2 separate regions of the Homo sapiens genome follow, and region 1 is linked to region 2. The links are contacts of gene promoters, found by promoter capture Hi-C in human tissues and cell types (Jung and others, 2019). All regions are on one chromosome and are shown on one strand. The core of a region is centred on a gene start or on the middle of the fragment in contact, and the rest is flanking DNA. Distances in the headings are between cores, read along the strand shown. Region 1 overlaps BTBD7 (BTB domain containing 7). Region 2 holds the start of UBR7 (ubiquitin protein ligase E3 component n-recognin 7).

The links. Contacts are between HindIII fragments. The study calls those that stand out against the background at their distance.
Region 1: a contact is called between a fragment that was not itself captured here and the fragment with the promoter of UBR7 in region 2, in 2 of the 25 tissues and cell types used here (hippocampus and liver).

What each region holds. Positions count from the first base shown.
Region 1 is chr14:93,303,322-93,306,616 of GRCh38, reverse strand. The region is part of intron 1 of BTBD7 (BTB domain containing 7); the gene reads left to right. Among named protein-coding and RNA genes, the nearest start is that of BTBD7, 28 kb to the left of the region's middle. The HindIII fragment of the contact is 5,621 bases long and covers 1-3,295 here.
Region 2 is chr14:93,205,668-93,208,699 of GRCh38, reverse strand. It overlaps UBR7 (ubiquitin protein ligase E3 component n-recognin 7), which reads right to left and starts at 1,444. Exons shown (of 11, transcript NM_175748.4): 1 at 1,259-1,444. The coding sequence starts at 1,408. It overlaps GON7 (GON7 subunit of KEOPS complex), which reads left to right and starts at 1,635. Exons shown (of 2, transcript NM_032490.5): 1 at 1,635-1,870. The coding sequence starts at 1,663. RefSeq lists an enhancer at 1,539-2,398. The HindIII fragment of the contact is 21,573 bases long and covers 1-3,032 here.

The DNA of each region.
Region 1 (3,295 bases), core at 422-2,921, 98 kb before region 2:
TATCCTCATTTAAAAGTAAATGAATTATCTTGGGAGAATGCTGTATTGTAATACAAGGAATTTTACCTTTAGAAATTAGATATTATTAATAGTATTAGAAAACTTTTGTTTTTAGACTTCTTTATGTTCTGTTTGAATTGTTTCTTCCTTGATAACGTCTTTTTTTTTTTTTTTTTAAAGAGAGATGAGGTTGTTTTGTTGCCCAGGCTAGTCTGGAACTCCTGGCCTCAAGCAATCCTCCTTAGCCTCCCAAAGTGCTGGGATTATAGGCGTGAGCCACCGTGCCTGGCCTCTTTAATATGTCTTTCCCAGATTTCAAACCCATTACCTTTATCACCCTCAGTGGACCCATAAATTGCTTCTCCTATATGCTTCTTGGTTTACAGCATTGTAACCACCCAGTTATGCAAGGTAGAAACCTCAGTCATCGTTTCCTTCTTCCTCTCCACCATTCCCCTTACCAGTTTGGTGAGCATTCTTCACTATGTCTTCTATGATAAGGACCTCATATGTATTACTTAATTTTTTATTATAGATGTCTACTATGATTTGCTGTTCCCCACATTGCATGTGTTGGGAACTTAATCCCCAAATCTGTATGTCAGTTGAACGTAGGGCCTTTGGAAAGTAATTAGGATTAGATAAAATCATCAGGGTGGGGCCACCATAATGGGGCTGGTGGCTTTATAAGAGGAAGAGAGACCTGAGCTGACACGCATGTTCTTGCCCTCTTGCTATGTGGTGCCCTCAGCCATGTTAGGGCACAGCAAGAAGGCCCTCACCAGATATTGGGGTGGTCTTGGACCTCCCACCCTCCAGAACTGTAAGAAATAGATTTTTTTATATATTACCCAGTCTATGATATTCTGTTACGGCAACAGAAAACAGACTAAGACAAGCTTCTAAACAAATGGAAAATAGAGTTTTAAGATGCAGACTTTCATTGCCTTAACAGGGCCAAGAATATCTATTTCATTCTGACATACTTAAACTGTAATATCCTCTCCCAGTGTTTCTGCTACAAGTGGGTAGCACAGAACAAGCAATGGGATTAAGGAAAAATTACCATAGTTATAAGAAAGCCCTCTAATAATGCTTGTGAGAGTGAGAGTTTTGTCTGGTTTTCTACTTCTTGTTTTTCATAAGAGACCTTGTTGATGTCTCTTACAGAGAGGGTCTTTTATAGCTAAACGTTCTCAAAACTTGTTCATCATCACAACCACTAGTGCTTCTTTTACAAGGACCACTATATACAAGACTCTAAGTGTAGACTTCAGAAGAAACTTAGGAGGAACACATTTTTCACTTAACATGCCAACAAAGATTCTTTAAATAGCAAATATTCTGATGGGCAGGAGCTCATCAGAATGGAGTGACTAGCCAGTATTAAGCCATTATATATGACTTGTAACTTTTTCACTGAAAATTTAAAGTAATGGGTCCCCCACCCTCATATTTATTTAGACTCAGTCTCCGTAATGTGAAGAAAAATAGAATTTTACTATGTAATTACCTCAACTGCTAAGCCATTATTGTCTTCTTATTTATAAGAATTTGAATAATTCATAGGGCTAGTCACATGCCTATTCCTTTAATGATCTAACAGTTTGGAATTTGAACTGTCTTCATGAAGACTGCCCTGGATGAGGAAACCTTTGAGTTTCTGTTTTGTTCTGTGTTCTCTTCTGTCTGTGCAGCCATAGTCTCAGGCTTACTCTAGGGTTCACCCAGCATGTTTGCTTATCTCTCCAGCTCTACTAGTGGAACCCATGGTAACTTATCAATAAGAAGTATACCCTTGTATTTTAAACATTTGCTAAGTTGGTGTCAGAAAATCTGAATGTTTTGGCTTTGAATGGAATTTAGGAGAAATTGCATTTTTTCCCTTTAAATTCAGTTGATTTGAATGTATTCTCTGATGTCAGTTCTATTTCTCTCTGCAAGTCCTCTTTAAACTCAAATCTAGGCCGGGCACGGTGGCTCACGCCTGTAATCCCAACACTCTGGGAAGACGAGGCCGGCAGATCACCTGAGGTCAGGAGTTTGAGACCAGCCTGGCCAACATGGTGAAACCTCATCTCTACTAAAAATACAAAAATTAGCCAGGTGTAGGGATGCACGCCTGTAATCCCAGCTACTCGGGAGGCTGAGGCAGGAGAATCGCTCGAACCTGGATGGCAGAGGTTGCAGTGAGCCAAGATTGCGCCACTGCACTCCAGCCTGGGCGACAGCACGAGACTCCGTCTCAAAAATAAAAATAAATAAATAATAAACTCAAATCTAGACTCATTTTTATCACCATCTCTAAATCTAGAGTGAACCATCTTTCTGTACACTCTCAAGCCAACAATAAAAACAGTTGTCCCTGATTAGAACAATCATTTCCTTTATTCAATAAAATATTGTGTGCCGGGCTCAGTGCTAGTTTTCCATATCGTAAACACAGAGGCTCCAAATGGCAGGCCCCATCACCTTATGAGAGTTGATTGGGCAAGTTCTGCAGTCTGTCTTGCAGGGCCTCATAATAATTTTTCACCCTCTGCTTATAGGCTCTTTTTCCTGACTTTTGGGGAAGACTTTTCAGGCTCCTTCCAGAGCTACTTCAGTTTTGGGGGATTCTAGCTGCTAGAAGACATCAAAACTTTTGGGGATGTCCAGGCCAAGGCAGCTCCTGCACTGGCTGCTGTAGGCATCACTGCTCAGGCCCTCTGCCAAAGACCAGATAAGAGGAATAAGCGACTCCCATTGTCCTAGAGTCAGGCCTTCCTCTGGTGGGGGGTGGGGAGGCCGTTTCAGCCCTCTAATTCCCATTTTCCATCTGTTGCTTCAAGAGGATCTTCTTCTGAGGTTGTAGGTCAGGATGAAGCATTTGGAGTGTGAGCTCTGAGGGTAAAGGTGGCAGAGTAGGAGAGGCCCATTTGTGTCTTCACAGTGCAGCCACATTCATTCTTAACGCACCACTTTCCAGGAATTGGTTCTCTGCTTTAAATGGCTAGAAACTGAATTTTTTAAAGAATATTTTAACATCTTTTAAGATGTAGTTCGTCTAGTCCAGGTCAGACCTGGCACAGGCCCAAGTCCCTCAAAAGACATTTCTCTTTTGATAGGCTCCTGTTTCTGCTTTCCGAGTGGCAGTCCATATTATCTTTTTTATTTTTTTTTTTAACTTTTTTTTTTCTGAGATGGGGTCTTGCTATGTTGTTCAGGCTGGTCTCGAACTCCTGAGCTCAAGCGAGCTGCCTGCCTCAGACTCCTGAAGTGCCAGGATTACAGGCATGTGTCACCATGCCTGACC
Region 2 (3,032 bases), core at 195-2,694:
TTTTTTTTTTAAAGTTCTATTCCAATAAGCCTTTTGCACTCCTAATGTTCTATTTGTTGATCTGGGTTGTGGGAACACGCACACTTTCCTTTCAAGCTGTGTACATGATTTGTGCAAATTTCCGTATTTTTTTTTTTACCACAAAGAAAATATTAAGGAATCCATTTTATAAAGGTAACTACACTTCAAAAATAGTTTACATATAGACATAACTTTTTTCTTTTTTTTTTTTTTAAGTAAAGCAGGGGAAAAATTGTTTTAGTGGTGACCAAAGGTTTTAAAATACCTGGGGCTATGTCTGGATACCAGGTTTATTCAACAATCTAGCACTTTGCAGTGTAAACTAACCTTGGTCAACAACGAGAACTGGTATTATGATCTCAGTTCATACCACATAATGAATACAAGTCTCTCCCCTCATCTCCCCAGTGTTCCAATCCACCCCTCTTCCTAGGTAACCCTTCTTCCTACCAATTCTCATCCTTTGTCAGTCTTCTTCCTACCCATCCTTTTCCATTTTTGTACCTCGAAGTGTAGGGTGAGTCACTAAACACCACATCACACCCCCTCAAACACTTGCTCACTCACAACGTCTTCCAAATGCCAAACAGATCCTTTTCTCCTCTCTCCCCTCCCTTGCCAGAGCCACTTGCTGTTCTGTTTCCGGTCTATTTCCAGGGGAGGGGGGCAGACTGCAGATAGACATGGGTACTTGCTTCATTTTGCCAAAAAAAGAAAGAAAGAAAAAGTACTAGCTAGCACTTGTCCAACTAAATTGCAGAGGAACTAGCTGTCAAGGAGCTCACCGCAAATCCCTATGGATTTGAAAATCTCTTTAACCTGACTCTCCCATTCGGTCCCTAATAAATAAATAAATAAATAATCTTAGGATGGGAAAATCAGGGACAAAGATGTCTGGATCTGAGAGGTCGCGGGGTGGTTTCGTGAAAAGCAGTGGTGCACCAAGAAGAGGCTGGAGAGGACGGACAGAGCAGCTGCTCCAGGGCCCTTCCTGGCGGGCCGGACAGAGTTGGAGACAGGGGAGAGGGGGGCCCCTGCTGGACACAGGCTGAAGGGGGCCCAGGAGGTTGGGGTTAAAAGGGAAGGGTGAGCTTGGGGTGAGGAAGCGGCAGACTAACGGCGGCCCCGGACCACCACTGGGGAGACGACTGCGGCAAGGCGGGAATAGGGACAGCCGGGCCGGGAAGGGGAGGTTCGGCGGGAGCCGGGGGAGAGGAGGCCCGGGCCGCGCGCCCACCTGAGAGTAGGAGCACTTCTCGGAGTCGCTGCCGCCCAGGACAGCGCACGCCTCATTCTCCAGCTCCTCGTCCTCCTCAAGGACGTCGACCAACGATACCACGGGCTCCAGCTCCGACTGCCGCCCAGCGGCGCCCTCGGCTCCGGCCATCCTCAACTGTCAGCCGAACAGCGGCTCGGCCCCGGCGGAGGCGGGAAAAGCGGCCGTGAGGGGCGTAGCCGGAGGAGGTGGGGCCCGAGTGCCAGGAACCAATGACAAGGAAAAAAAGCGAAGGAAGGGGGAGGAGCGACTTCCGACAAACGGATGTCACTCCTCTCCCTTCTCCCGCCTGCGCCGGACGCGGGCTGATTTCCGCCTCCGGGTGGCGCTTCCCGGTGTCGTGTTCTGGAAGCTTAGCGGTCACCATGGAGCTGCTGGGAGAGTACGTCGGGCAGGAAGGGAAGCCGCAGAAGCTGCGGGTGTCCTGTGAGGCGCCGGGTGACGGCGACCCTTTCCAGGGCCTGTTGTCTGGCGTGGCCCAGATGAAGGACATGGTAACGGAATTATTCGACCCTCTGGTACAGGGGGAAGTGCAGCACCGGGTGGCGGCGGCTCCAGACGAGGACTTGGACGGTGAGCTCTGAGACGGTGCTGCAGTGACCGGAGGACGGGGCGGGCGCCCAGGGGAAATTGGCTTGGGGAGCCCGTGTAGAGTGGCAGACTTGGACAAAGTGAGCCTCGAGGAAAGAAGAATTGCATCTAAAAATTTTTGGCGGGCTAGGCGAAGTGGGGCTCACGCCTGTAATCCCAGCACTTTGGGAGGGCGAGGCAGGAGGATCACTTGAGGTCAGGAGTTCCAGAACAGCCAGGGCAACATATCGAGACCCCGTTTCTATTATTATTTTTAAAATAATTTAAAAAATAAAAATTGTTGGCATTTATCACTATATTTATTTGGGCTGCTTCTACTCAAGCGTTTCCACAACTCATCGCTATTTCGTTTATTTCACAAAAAAACGTGTCGAATGCCTACTATTATGTGCCAAACCCTGAGCTGAGCCCTGGAGGAAGAATGAGGTGAATGCGACTCAGTTCCTGCCCTTGTGAAACACAAGGGGACTAGACAGGCAGACACTCTTATTAAAAGTGGAAGTGGTCCGGGCTGGTGGCTCACGCCTGTAATCCCTGCACTTTGGGAGACCGAGGCAGGCAGATCACGAGGTCAGGAGTTCGAGACAAGCCTGGCCAATATGGTGAAACCCTGTCTCTACTAAAAATACAAAAATTAGCTGGGCGTGGTGGCATGCTCCTGTAGTCCCAGCTACTCTACTCGGGAGGCTGAGGCAGAAGAATCGCTTGAACCCTGGAGGCAGAGGGTGCAGTGAGCCGAGATCGCGCCACTGCACTCTATCGTGGGCGACAGAGCGAGACTCCGTCTCAAAAAAAAAGAAAAAAAAAGTGAAAGTGGTTCTGTGGTCCTCTGTAACTGTTGCAAACCCAGACACCCTAGGAAGTCTTCAGAAAGGATAAGACTTTTGAGCTGGGTGTTGAATAAAAAGGAGTTTTATCAGGTGTGAAACTACAGACATACTTGGAAGAGTACAATCTATCGCAGAGTAGGAACAGGTTCCAAAGACTGGGACAGACTTCATTTTATCACGTATTAACTCCCAGAGACTCCCTTGCCTTTCCAGTTTTGTAGGTGCAGTTTGAAAGTAGAAACATGAAGTTTAACTGCATTATTTTTAAAAAATTGCCTCGAATGCAGAAATAGGCAGGTACTTTTTTTTTTTTT